2 separate regions of the Homo sapiens genome follow, and region 2 is linked to region 1. Evidence: promoter capture Hi-C in human tissues and cell types (Jung and others, 2019). All regions are on one chromosome and are shown on one strand. Each heading gives the region's core, a stretch centred on a gene start or on the middle of the fragment in contact. The rest is flanking DNA. Distances are from core to core; before and after follow the strand shown.

Region 1 (7,297 bases), core at 1,806-4,305:
GGCTCTAACCAGAGGAGCTTAGTATTGGGCTTCTCCGAAAGGTTTTGCTGAAAGAAGGGGTTCCTTGCTTTAAGAAGATGAAAAAACAGCCGGGCGCAGTGGCTCACGCCTGTAATCCCAGCACTTTGGGAGGCCAAGGAGGGTGGATCACGAGGTCAGGAGATGGAGACCATCCTGGCTAACACGGTGAAACCCCGTCTCTACTAAAAATACAAAAAATTATCCGGGCGTGGTGGCGGGCGCCTGTAGTCCCAGCTACTCAGGAGAATGGGGTGAACCTGGGAGGCGGAGCTTGCAGTGAGCCGAGATCACACCACTGCACTCCAGCCTGGGCGACGGAGCGAGACTCCGTCTCAAAAAAAAAAAAAAAAAAAAAAAAAGAAGGCGGAAAAACAGTGAGACCAGATGAGTTCAGAGTTTTTCTCTTCACTTTTTCATATCTATCTATCTATTCTCATGACACATGTAATACAGGCTCAGAGAGAATGGATGTATAAGTTACATTTATAATTTTTAAAAACTAATATGAAGAAAATAAAGGTAAGCAAAATGAATAGACTAAAAACCACCCAGTAATCCTAACACTCACAGATAACCAGTGTGTATTTTCAGGCATATATCCTTAGAGACTTCCCCAATTTTTTACTAGCTTTAAGTTTCTGGGATTCTAGAAGGCTGAGCCTTGAGCTCTTCACGTATTTCTTAAATTGTTATAGCTCCACGTGCCTTCTAAAATGCATCTTTGCCATATTTTCGTTTATTAAAAAGACGCTAATTCTTGCCTCAAATAGTATGACCTCTATCTTCTCTGGAGATGTTAATTTTTCTGGTTTATTATTAGGATTCAACACCTGTATTTTCAAATCAGTTGAAAAACAGACACACACACCCCTCCACACACAAACGAACACAGAATACTTCTTTTAATGTCTTCATTAAGCAGTCTAATTGCAGTGACCCCCAAGGCAGCTCTATTTTGGCCTTTATTCTGTTCAACTGGAATTGAACTCTGTGTGCCTTTTTGTCCAAGCTTCTGGGGACAATGCCCATTTGTTGTTTGGCTGGCACAGTTTCATCTGTTGTGGAGGGGTAGGTACATCTTTAGTGCTGGTCAAATAATTATAATAAAGAGTTTGGTTGGTCTTATGTTTGGTTAGAAAATGTGATCTAACATCAGCTGACAATCACAATAGATACAAACAGCACACATAGACTTTCTTTTCACAATGGGCTTCTCAGCTAATATCTCAGACAATATTGTGAATATTATGGTCATACAAACAGTTCTGACTAATATCCAATGTGAATTTTAAACTTAGCAATCCACTAAACAAAGCAAAAGCTGGAATTTTCTGCTTTTAGATCAGTATGTGGACTAATGGAAAAAAAGTCACACAACTTCATATAACTTATCTTACATGCGATAACTCATCATACATGCCTAGATATTATTATATTTAAAATATCTGGGTTGGTTTTATAAACTTATATTTATTAAAAACTATACTGTGCTTGGTACTGGCCTAGATTCATAGCAGGCAGTCAATCAATACTTGTAAACCAATGGATTTGACTGAGAAGATAAGTAATATCGCAGCAAATACGTTTCTTGCACCTCTCGCCATAATTGAGTAAATGATTTAACTATATAAAAACATAAAAGATGCTTACCTGCTTTTCCTCAGAACTTCCAGAATCAGCCTGTTTAACCTTAGAAACAGAAAAGATGAAGAAAGATTACAAGAATGTCCTCCTAGCACATGGAAGCACACAATTCAGTTATTTTCAGGAATTTTCTTTAAGATGCAACTGTACTCACTGGTATGGCACAGGTGATGCCTAGGAGGCAAAAGCAAATCACTGCAATTCTCATGGTAGTGAGTTTTCCTGCAAAATATTTCATAAGGAATAGCTGACATCTTCATAGGTTACAACAGTGATACCTTTTTATACTACCACATTACAAAATGATCACAAATAAAATATATTTTCTATAGAATCTTTTCTACTTCTTAGAGATGCCTTTTCTTTTTAGTATTATAGTCTTTCAAGTTAATATTTATATTGCCACCTATTATCCATCTTTCACTATTAGGCAAGGGAAAGGGAAATTTTGCAAGTCTGTATTTATTCAACTTTAAAATTTAGAGTTCCAGAAATTATACCATTACTACCTTATATATCTAGCTCTCTAAACCTACAAACAGATCAACAGTAACTTAATTATATTAATAAGCTAGTATGGGAATATTTTTTAGAGAAGAAAAAACTCACAGAAAAAAATGAAAAAAATTTGCTTTATCCATTTTTCCAACATGTACTTTAAATGTGACTTTTAGCTTAATTATCAAGTAGGTGCTACTTAGGTGAAATCAAACTATCTCTGAAATTTGTTATTTAAGTAAGATGTTCTAAAAATTTGAAATTCAAAGGAAAACATTGAAAATAGCCAACAGCTTTTCTATTTGTAATAATAAGCCTACACAGTGTCATACAGGTATCTTGGTGAATATTTTAACAGCTAAATTTAGCAGTGGCATATTCAGAAAGGGTTTTCTTCCCCTTAAAAGTGAGATACATCATTTAAAAAATAGCATTGTAATTGGTTTAATTAGCATAAAAGATCCCTTTTCTTTTAAATTCCTGCACAGTCACCCACTGAAAATTATATAGGTATAATTATTCCAAAGGGGAATTTAATTTTACTATTTTCTGATTAGCATCGGTGGTTTCCGTTCTTTTGAGGACCCAGTGGAAGTATTTTTAAGTTTTAAATTTGATTGGCATTCAAAATATCTAGACACCTTTGTTCCAGGAGACCTGCAATGTATCTAATCTGCTTATTAAAAAGGCTAGAAAATTTAAGTCTGTTTAACAGCATTACAATTAAAAATATTTTTCCTTAGAATTTGGACTTCCCCATGAAATTCAGCTGAATGCACAACCCAGTAGCAAACTGAAGCTGTACCTTGGTCGGCGTTTGGCTGAGAAGGCTGCAACTGGCCTGAGACGAGTCTGGTCCCGACGATGCTGTGCTCTGCCTCCTCCTGCTGCTGCTGACAACCAAGCCCTCCCAGAATTTAAATGCTGCTGCAGACATCCTCCACCAACACAGGGAGGCGGAGAGATTGTGTCATGAGGTTTTCTGCCACTGCCCAGCCCACCTGCTCCCACACTTCCCCCTCTGGTTTTGTGGTTAAAACAAAAAAAAACAAAAACGCACACACACAATCTACAGTTAAAACATTACTTATGTACAATATCATTAACTAGCTTTTTCATTTACGGGATGGGCATTCAGCATCCAGGAAGAGCACTTAGGGATCCCATGAAAAAGGGAGAAAGTAGGGAAAAACATTAATGTAAAATTAAATAGAATGGATTTTTGTTTCTTTCGGTTTAAGTAACATAAAGGTAATATCTGCAACCACTCTTGCCTGTATGATTGTACTTATTGAAGAGCCAGAAGGCTATTGTTCAAGCCTGCAAGGAGTTCAGAAAACTTGCCTCTGTCCTTTACTACTCAAGCTTAGCTTTGTGATTTCGAGTATGCAGTAGCTTGTTACTTAGACAAATGGCACTAGTGACATTAAAATATAAAATTCTATATGAAATAGAAGAATGGTAATTTATTCTAGATGTTGCAGAAGTAAAGCAGTTTCTGACTGAGAGCAGGATGACTGCTTGAGAGGGCTGCTTCAGGAGCCAGACCGTGGTTCTGAATTCCGCTGTGTCACTGCTGACCTGTGCAACCTTGGGCAAATCGCCCAGCCTACCTATCCTTGTTCCCTCATCCATGAAATGCAATACTATTACCTAGGTCATGGGGTTTTTGAGGGGTTTAAATGAATTAGTATGTTAAACTAGCAATGCTTAGCACATATTAGATGCAAATGCTCTGCGTATCTTAAGGACTATATGTGTGTTAACTATTATGAAATTTTTAAGAGGGGCAGGCAGTCACGAATTGTAATGTCCTTTAAAAGAACAGGTTATTAAAATGAGAGTAGACGTAAGATCTTTAAATTGTATGCATCAATAAGGAAATTTTGCACATTTCTAAAGGAACAGATTCGATTTTGGAATCATCTTTTTTTCTAGTTTTTCTCCCAAGGTATGTAAAGTAGGCCACTTAAAAAGAAAAACATTTTTAAAAATTTCTGTATTAAAAAACACTTTACTAGGTATTTAAAAGGTGTCTGAATGAAAGAAAATTACAGGGAAAGTCCGAATATTAGAGCAGAATTCAGGGATAGCAGAGCTCTGGGTCCTTTTAAAATATTTAATATTGCCTTGAGATTACTTATCTTCATTTGCTTTCTCAGTTGTGAAATGCAGATTGCACTATTTATTTACCTTACACCTTTATTGTTAAGACTTGTGTGTAATTGAGATGAAAAATAAATGGTCCTATTTATTATTAGGTTGCTGCAAAAGTAATTGTGGTTTTTATTAGTCCTAAAGTGTCAGCTTCCTTTTGCCAAATATTACTTTTAATATAAATATAGATTAAATAATGTCTTGCAGTGATAGTGTATAGCTAATTCATAGGTTTCATGAACATTTGGTAGGGGGAAATATGTCTCCCTTAAATTGGATGTATTCCAGATGAATTGATATGATTGGTTTGTAGGTAATAAGCACCCATTTTAATAAGTAAGATGACGACTATCTCTATAAAATAGAAAGCACACAGATTATAAAGTTGCAAAATAGACTTCTTTTTTCTGCTTCTAAAAACTATTTTTTTCCTTTAAACATACCCGCATAAGCGTGTCATGTTGTCAATTTAGTGGAGGGAAGTCTGAAAATTCTAAAAACAACAAAATTTCCACAGGATTTACTGTAGTTTACTCTGTGCCCACGGGAATGATTCAATATGAAGCTAGAATTAATTATAGGAATAGATTATGCTGGAGCCCAGCCATCTTGAGATGAACCATACGACCCTTTACAGGACTCTTCTGGTCATAGCTCCGCAGTGCCACACGATGGCAGCATTTCTGAAAAAAGATTTCAGACCACAATCTGGTTCTACCAATTTTCTTAATTCCAGCGGGATAGAACACTCCTGTATTTAATGACAGGACTATATACAGCTGTGGAGCTCTCCATTTCTTGGAATGCCAGGTGAGGAAATATTTCCCAACAATGACCCGCTATGCAATCAGGGACAGAGACCCAGAGAACCAAAGCGTTCTTGTTTTGCTCTGTTGTTGCCTTAGGCAATCCCAAGTTGACACTATTGTCTCCTTCCCGACTTCTACACTCATTCAAAAAGTTCCTAGTCCCAAGGCCTCTCTCAGAGAAAAGGCTTGTGAATTCACGGGTAAAGAATGTGTCTGGGATGCTTTGGAGTTGAGAAGATAAAGTGATTTATAATGGGAGGCAATTCTGTAAAGTAGGAAATGGATGCTGCGTCATTCTGACTATCGGGGAGGTCATGTTTTGGGATGTTTCTTGCTGTTTGCACTCAAACATGCTGCTGCTGGTTGTTTTTTCTGAGTAGGATTTTCTGTCAGAATTAACATGTTAAATGATTTAAATCACAGTGGCTCTATCTGTAATATTTCCAAAGTTTCCATTCTTGATTGGCTAATGATTGGTTGTTAGAATCAAAAGGTCAAAATGCACAAATTCCCTATAAATCTTGTGAGTGGAAAGTAAAAAAAGTTTAGTTGTCAAACTAGAATGCAAAGAGTAATTTGTGATCTTAAATTATACACACTAAGAGGACACATGGAAACAAATAAAGAGCCTTAAGGTCTTTTTCCTGAATTACATGAAAATTCCCATATAATAAAAAGTAAGTGTTCAATGTCACTACTTTGGTGGACAACTTTATTAAACTCACTTCCAGTTTATTTGAACATTTCTAATTATATTTTACTTAGTAAAGTGTAACCAACTATTTCAGTGTTTTCAGCTCCACAGGTAATTATTTTTTTCCCTTGAGTCAAGGTTCAGACATGACTCTGATATTTTGGTAACACCACTAATCTGTCATAAAGAAGTTTGGAATTAAAGCTAATCGGAAGCCTAGCACCATTCATCATATATAGACTGGGAAAAGGGGCATTATTTATCACAGGGTAGCAAGCAAAGGTGGATGATAAGAGGGTGCTATTTTCAAGTTCAGACATGAAATTAGAGCATTTCAGAAATACAAAAAAAAAAAAACAAAAACACCATAAACTCTTTTATTCCATTGCTCAATAGCTTAGACAACAAAAGTCAGCTCCTGACAAAGTGGTCGTACCATTGGTAAACATTAGTTTCAATTTAAAACAAATAAAAAAAAGTTTTCCTTTAGACACATAGAACTGTTATGGAGTAAGTGCTCAATAAATTGTTGGTGATTGCCCACTCAGCCCTGCATCTATGACACGAATTCTGACCTTATAGTTTTTGCTTATGAATACAATGCATAGGCACTATGCTTGAATTCAGAGTATATCTCATATATTGATATCTAATATCTGCCTGTACTCAAGAATCTAGCATTTATTTCTTCATTAAAGTAGTATTAGTAACTCTGAGGACATTCTAATGCTCTTTAAATGATAGACTTTTTTAAGGTAGACTTAAATTACTAACTTTTTTTTCTTAAATGACACCATTCTTACCCTCATGGAGCCCATTTGTTCATGAAAATCAACTAGGAAATTTGAAACTTGAGTAACCAATGAGATTAAGGGGGTGTGGCTAAACAGTAAACTTGGCAGCACCCTGGGTAGAGAAGGTATATGGTAGAGACCCTGTGTCCACATTGGAGTTGAAGGGATGGGTATTCTGGGATTGGATCCAAACAGAAAGTCCCCCTTCCCACTCAACATCAACCACAGCAGCATAAACTCGAGACCTATAACAACCTGGGGAACAATAGAGGAGGCTGTAATCAGAGAGGATCCAAAGAGGGAGATAGAACAAGGTGGAAAAGCACAAATAGAAAGTCTAGCAGCTGCAGGAGGACCTTGTTTGTTCAGAAAAAGACATTTTGTGGCAATAAGCGGTCAGTGACAGTCATTTTGCAGATATATTTGAGGGGAGAAAATCATTCTCCGAAATTGGTTTATGAGAATTCTTGCTTAAAATCTGATGTTTGAGTAATTTTTGGTAGAGAATCTATCATAAGGTTGATATGAAAAGGTGACAATTTCAGTGCAAAAGAGAAAACAAAATCAAAAGAAAGGGGAGTAAAACTAGACAACAAAAGCAGCTCAGTCAGATATTTTTCTGGTTACACTTGGCTAAGGTTTTTTGTTTCGACAATTCTTGTCAAGGCATAGTTTACATT
Region 2 (7,297 bases), core at 2,640-5,139, 550 kb after region 1:
CACCAGCTGGGGCGACAGTGCGAGACTCTGTCTCAAAAAAAAAAAAGGAAATAAGAACATTAAGACCCAGAGAGGTAAATAAGTTTACCAAGGTCACACAATTGAGAGTAGAAATCAGGATCCAAACCTAGGCAAGCTGTCTTAGAATTCCAGGCTCTTAACACTATGTTTTACTATCTCTATTTCATTTTTGGTTCATTCATATGTTTTATGCATTCACAGGAATAAAACAATATTCTACACACATCACCAGTAGATCCTTCTGGAAGATTTGTATGTTGTGGTATGTAAAAGCATTCACTACATCTTTGTAATATACTACCTTTTTTCTAGAAAATGTACATTTGATGACTGGGAGCAGTGTCTCACACCTACAATCCCAGAACTTTAGGAGGCCAAGGCAGGAGGATCACTTGAGCCCAATAGTTTGAGACCAGCCTGGGCAACATAGGGAGACCCATCTCTACAAACAATAAATAAATTTTTAATTAGCCAGGCCTGGTAGTGCGCACCGGTAGTACCAGATACTCAGGATGCTGAGCTGGGACAATCACTGAGCCCAGGAGGTTGAGACTGCAGTGAGTCATGATCACACCACTGCACTCCAGCCTAGGTGACAGAGCAATTAAAAAAGAAAATGAACATTGGAAACCTTCTAGTAATCACAAAAACTAAGTGCAAAACTGTCACTTTCTGGGTTTTTCCAAATTATCAAAGACTGGTAAAATTCTTTTTTTTTTTTTTTTTTTCAAAGAGACAGGGTCTTGGCCAGGCGTGGGGGCTCACACCTGTATTCACCAGCACTTTGAGAGGCCAAGGCAGACAGATTGCCTGAGGTCAGGAGTTCGAAACCAGCCTGGCCAAAATGGTAAAACCCCATCTCTACTAAAAATATAAAACTTAGCCAGGCATGGTGATGGGCGCCTGTAATCCTAGCTACTAGGGAGGCTGGGGCAGGAGAATCACTAGAACCTGGGAGGCGGAGGTTGCAATGAGCCAAGATCACGCCACCGCACTCCAGCCTTGGCAACGAGAGCAAGACTCCATCTCAAAAAAAAAAAAAAAAAAAAGGAAAAGAACACTAGGGACACGGTCTTGCTGTGCCACTCAGGCTGGAATGCAGTGATGCGATCATAGCTTACCACAGCCTCAAACTCAACTCCTGAGCTCAAGCAATCCTACTGATCACTTAGTAGTCTCTGAGCCTACTCTGATCCTACTGATAGTGAGGACTACACATGCATGCCACCAGGCCCAGTTTTTTTTTTTTAGAGACAAGGGTCTTGCTAAGTTGCCTAGACTGGTCTCAAACTCCTGGCCTCACACGATCCTCCTGCCTCAGCCTTCCAAAGCACTGGGATTACAGGTGTTAGCCACTGTGCCTGGCCATAAAATTCTTTTTTTGTTTTTCTTGAGACATTGTATCACTCTGTCACCCAGAATGGAATGCAGTGGCATGATCTCAGCTCACTGCAACCTCCACCTCCCCGGTTCAAGCTATTCTGCCACATTAGTTACCAGGTACTTGGCACATTTGTTAACTGTTGGCTTTTTCTTTCAAGTCAGTACAGTCTCTGGTTCTGGATATACCTGCCTCATGTAGGGTTCCCAGAGTTACAAAAACGAAGAATAACTGTCAAGCAACTTTACACTGTTCTGCTGGCATCTAACAAAAAGAGCATTAGAGATTTCCAGAGAGCACACACGTGTATTCCTTCCTTCCTCAAATCCCACTAAAAGAAGATAAAGATAGATAAAGGGAAATAAAATCCGTACCAGGAGAAGGAATAAATGCCACCAGTGAATGACAGATGGTAACCAACTTCAGGAAAATGAAAAGTTGTTGGAATATTGACCTACAAACCAGAGTAGGACAAAGTAAAATAAGAATATGCACCAAGGCCGGGCGCGGTGGCTCACGCCTGTAATCCCAGCACTTTGGGAGGCCGAGACGGGCGGATCACGAGGTCAAGAGTTCAAGACCAGATCAGCCTAACCAAGATGGTGAAACCCTGTCTCTACTAAAAATACAAAAAAAATTAGCCGGGCGTGCGCGCGCCAGTAATCTCAGCTACTCAAGAGGCTGAGGCAGAAGAATCGCTTGAACCCAGGAGGCGGAAGTTGCAGTGAGCCGAGATCGCGCCACTGCGCTCCAGCCTGGGCGACAGAGCGAAACTCCTTCTCAAAAAAAAAAAAAAAAAAAAAAACGCATTAGGGAGAAATGCTATTCCTACAAGCTGAGCCGAGCTAGAGGTTTCAAGCTTGAAGTCAGTGGGCCCAAGGATCATAAACTGGCAGCGCGACAATAACCATGGAAATCACTCAGTCCTCCTCCCTCCCCAATCTCCAAGCAAAAAGTCCAAAATAGTTATGTTTGTCTCCAAGATAAAATCAAAAGTTTTTTAGAAATGAAGGGGTAGGACCCCTACTGTGAATACTGGTGTTAAGAGTACACAGCAGAAACTTAGGCTTAATAATTTTACAGTTCACACGGAGGAAATAAACAGCTATACTCAGCAGAGAAGTTGCTCCACCACTACTGCAAAGCCTGAAGCAAAAGGCAGGTTCCCAGTCTACCCATCTGGTACCTGCTCACATGCCCTCAACTGAAACCTTCCTATCTAGGCAACCTGGTACAGAGCCAAAAGTCAATTAGCGACCCATGTACTGAAAACAAGACCTATTACTCATATTAATCAAAATATAGACAGATAACCAGTGCCCATCACATGTTCGAGAAAAAGCAACAGAAGGAAACAGGACCAAAAAGACACAGAACAATTGACCAACAGTAAGTAAATTATTTAGGAAATAGATTTTTCTAATTATCATCTTTGTAGATTCAAGACTTTTAATATCTATAAAATAAGAAAAGGCTGCTGCACCTAGGACCCTGTGTTTACTAACTCAAAGAATAAAAACTGGAGAAGGGAAGAACAGAAGGAGGCAGTGTAAGACACCATAAATCCCTAAATTTAACCACAATAGACAAATTATTAAAAAAAAGGAGGTAGATAGTAAATATAATATATTGTCCACCCTGGAAAGGGGACAGGGGGAATAGTGATTTTACTTTTCATTTTACATTTTCAAGTTGTTTTAACTATGTACATGTATTAATACTAATAATAATGTTTTAAGTATTAACCATAAAAAAATGGCACGGGACACCACCACCCCAAACAATTGCTATTTAAACTCTCTCGTGATACTAACAATGATTTACAGAGAATGGCAAATTTCAAAATCAGAAGTCAAGAAGGGTCCCTGCCACTCGTTTTCCTCAAAAGGCAGATAAAATATTTTAGAGCCTTTTTGAAAACTTGTATATGACTATAAAAACCCGAGAGGCAAAGCAAAGCCTACAGAATACGCCAGAAAAAAAAGCTGCTTCCCACCCCCAACTCAAGGTCTAGGGCAAAGGAGCCGGTAGTAGGAGGGTGGAATACCTGAACGCCTGGATGCCGCGGCAGCGCGAGGACCTGATAGTCACAGAGGCCAAGGCCAGAGAGAGAGACACCGCGGCTAAAGCCTTTCCCAGGAGGCGTCCCGCCATGAGCGCCCCGAGGGCGGCTTTGCGATGCTAGGTCGCTCTTAGTTGGTGCCTCCGCCTCCCCACACCCCACAGCTCCGAGTCCCGGCCGCGGGTATCTGATGGGCACTAGGACCTGTCTGCCGTTGGGTTCCCGAACGGGAGTAGCTGTGCCTATCTATAAATCACAGATCAAGAGCCCTCCCACGATAAGAGTCCACCGCTTTCCCCAGTGCATCGAGAAAAATCCAGACCAGCACGTGACGCCGAAGCCTCCAGCGCCAGCTGCCTGGGGAAACCGCGGCCACGAACCTCGTAACTTTCTCTCTGCGTAATGGCGCTTTACGGCCGCGCCGCAAAGCAAAGGTCGTGCGTTGCCGGCTTGGTAGCGCCTTCCTTCTCCGACTTCCCAGACTTCCCAGTCTGCGCAGGCTTACTTGGGGACGCAGGGAACTACCAAGAAAGTGTCAGAGGAAAGGAAAGGTGAAACAGACGAGGAACTGGAACGGGAATAAGTGGGAAAGAAGCCAAGGGGTTTGAGAGAGACTTGCTGCCCTGGGTTTTTGGTTTTTGTTTTTTGAGACAAGAGTCTGGCTCTGTCGCCCAGGCTGCAGTGCAGGGGCGCGATTTCAGCTCATTGCCGCCTCAACCTCCTGGGCTTAAGCGAGTCTCTTGTCTCAGCCCCCGACGTAGCTGGGACTACAGGCACACACCGCCATACCTGGCTAATTTTTGTATGTTTTGTAGCGACAGATTTTTGCCATGTTGCCCAGGCTGGTCTCCAACTCTCAAGCTCAAATAATCCAACTGTTTGGGCCTCCCACAGTGCTGAGGTTACAGGCCTCAGCCAACGCGCCTGGCCCTGCTCTGGTTTTTTTAGGGAGTAAGTTGTTGCGGAAGGACGCAGGTCTTAGCCATATTTTTGAATAATACTTCGTTATGGGAATGAAACCGCCTTTGCAAAATTATGACTGATTTGGGAGGCCGAGGCGGGATCACTTGCAGTCAGGAGTTCAAGACCAGCCTGGCCAACGTGGTGAAACCTCGTCTCTACTAAAAATACAAAAATTAGCTGGGCATGGTGGTAAACGCGCCTGTAGTCCCAGCTGCTCAGGAGGATGAAGCAGGAGAATCGCTTGAACCCGGGAGGTGGAGGTTGCAGTGAGCCAACGTCGCACCACTGCACTCCACCCTGGGCGACAAGAGTGAAACTACGTATCAAAAAAAAAAAGAAAAAACCTCTGCTCCCTGAATGCTCAGGGAGACTGATTTGAGTAATAATAGAACTCCGGTCTCACACAGCTGGCTCTGCATGAATTACTCTTTCTCTATTGCAATTCCCCTGTCTTGATGAATCAGCTCTGTCTAGGAAGCGGGAAAGGTGAACCCCTTGGGCGGTTACAGCAAGAGGAGATAGTCCAGAGACTCAGCCCTCGTATCTTGAAGGGTTTCTTGGTTTTTTGTTTTTGTTTTCTTAACCAAGTTGTCTGCTCCAATTGCTGGATTTCATTCACAAGGCTTTGCTAGGACCAGTTGTGGCCCTTGGAAACTCGTGGAGGAGAAAAGCTGTGAAAATAGGCACACATGCTGGAGGAGGAACAGAGGGCAACACACATAATACTGGATAATAAACTTGAGAGGCAAAAATTAAACAAACCGACAAACAAAGTTGGAAACCCAGACTGTCCAAAGCAGCTTGTAATCAGGCTTACTTCATTTATATTAGCTTATTGATGTGGCAACTATTTGACTTTTACTTACATGATCCGCTGTTTCTGTGGTGTGGTTCCAATACACCGACGTTACAAAACTTTGACCATCTTAAAAGCCAGATTAATCGAATTTTAACAACCATTGTTCTGAAAACTGCAGAACTCTCGACAGGTATTGACTGTTCAAACTACACTGTCAACCTAGACGCTGAGGCACGAGATAGAACTTAAAGCATTTACTTTAGCCAAAGTGAGGACAGCTGCCCAGAAGACCCAGACCCAAGTAACCTTAAATGTGAACTCCTGTCCACCTTTGTTACAATCAGGTTTTTAAAGGCAAAAAGGGGACAGGGAGTTGACTGATACAAAGTTGTAAAGAATTACTGGTTTGTAGAAATAGTATTGGTTAGTGGTTGGCTATACGTTAAGCTATAGGGTGCGAGTTACAGTGTCCAGTGTACCATTATTAGGTTAATTTTTAGCTACTTGTGGCTATAGTAAGCAGTTTAAAGAGATGAATGCATAACAAAGTGGGGAGTAGGATGTAATTGCTGTCTCATTTTAATGTCTCTCTGGGCCTGGTAATTTAAAAGGATTTACCTTCCTCATATAAAAGTTCTTTTCTCGGCACTGAGAGATTTGATTATACTCTAGCATAGCTTCCAGTAGCTTAAGGCCTTGTCCCTAGGCTGACCCCAGATCCCGTTAAAATGCTTCCCTGAAATCAAAACTCAATGCCTGGAGAATTTACTGTTTGTTCCAGCCAAAACTTGATGATAGGCAGATAGGTCCCTGAACCCCTTCTTAGAGCAGTCACTTTAGAAAGCTTGTTTCTCTACCCTTGGTGATGTAAGTCTACCACCCAACACAGTTTCCTCAAAGACTTGGGAGCCATCTCTTTGAAATGCAAATATTCAGAAAGATAACTCACCCTAGCTCCTAGTCCCTGTACAAGACCGGTACCTTGCTTTAGCTAGCACCACTGCCTCCTATCATAAAGATAGAAGTTTGTTTCTCCTCTGGATAAGAGCCAGTTAACAAACCCAAATGGCCTAATCACATCAATCAACAAACCACCGTGCCCCCCTGCCACCCCCCAAAACTTAAGATCCTTTTGTGCCTTTCCTTTTTGCATACCACAGCCTTTTGTTTCAGGGAAGTGTGGGATTAGTTTGTATTACACTCTTTTCCCTATTGGACTAGCATCACTGAATAAAGTCTGTCCTTACTGCTTTAACTAGTGTCCAGCTTTGTTTATTTTGACTGCTTTCTCAGGTTGAGAAGTACTATTATTGAAATGTGCATTTTAAAGATAAATATCAGTACTCGGCTTCCTCTGGTCAGATAAACTTTGCTCTCAGTGTTGTTAATCACTGCTTAAACTGGAAATGTATTAGACCGGCTCTGTTCATCAAGTTCAGCGTGTCCAAAGTCTGTTGACAAATTAGTCACTAGAGAAGACAGGAGAAAAGCAGTGAGTTACAAAGTCAACAATCAAAGAAAGGGAGCAACAGAAAGTAGTTCTCACAGGAAGCTCCTCAGACCCTAGTCTTATAACTCCATATTCCCTAAGGGGAGGCTAGCGTGAACTTAGTTTGATGAACCTGTGCAAACAACTGTACAAACAAAACCAATTCCATGGCACTGAAACAAAACTGCAATTAGCTGGGACAGCCAGATCTCCTGGGTTCCTCCCTTCAGGGATGCATACTGCACATCTGCTCAGGTGTAGTGAGTGCATGTTCTGCAACCTGCTCTTGGGTAGAAACAAAACATCTCCTCATCAAATTACCCACATCCTAAATTAGTTAAACAGATGTCATCAGAATTTAAGGAGAAGTAAGGACTTTTTAAAAATTTATGAAGCATATACCAACTTCAAGGGCATCTTGCAATAGTTGGTGAGACAGACCAAGAACACTGAGAAATGAGAATTTTTAAATAGGAAAGTGACATATGTGATTATTAGAATTGATGAGTATGTTAAAAGTAAGAGTAATTCAGAATCCCAACTATTTCCCTGATATAGTTTGGATATTTCTCCCCTCCAATC

Evidence for each region. Contacts are between HindIII fragments. The study calls those that stand out against the background at their distance.
Region 2: a contact is called between the fragment with the promoter of NUDT9 here and the fragment with the promoter of SPP1 in region 1, in 2 of the 25 tissues and cell types used here (adrenal gland and heart left ventricle).

Annotation. Positions count from the first base shown.
Region 1 is chr4:87,971,472-87,978,768 of GRCh38, reverse strand. SPP1 (secreted phosphoprotein 1) reads right to left here and starts at 3,055. Exons shown (of 7, transcript NM_001040058.2): 1 at 2,969-3,055; 2 at 1,820-1,887; 3 at 1,672-1,710. The coding sequence starts at 1,873. LOC124900730 (a long non-coding RNA gene) reads left to right here and starts at 5,000. Exons shown (of 2, transcript XR_007058172.1): 1 at 5,000-5,130. RefSeq lists cis regulatory regions at 3,060-3,069, 3,104-3,113, 3,288-3,303, 3,741-3,749, 3,816-3,824 and 1 more, enhancers at 3,082-3,152, 2,915-3,414, 3,777-3,797 and promoters at 2,969-3,182, 2,972-4,059, 3,059-5,301. The HindIII fragment of the contact is 7,576 bases long and covers 1-5,929 here.
Region 2 is chr4:87,419,165-87,426,461 of GRCh38, reverse strand. NUDT9 (nudix hydrolase 9) reads right to left here and starts at 3,889. Exons shown (of 8, transcript NM_024047.5): 1 at 3,450-3,889. The coding sequence starts at 3,556. RefSeq lists enhancers at 1,518-2,019, 2,020-2,523, 3,067-4,001, 4,071-4,120. The HindIII fragment of the contact is 9,950 bases long and covers 1-7,297 here.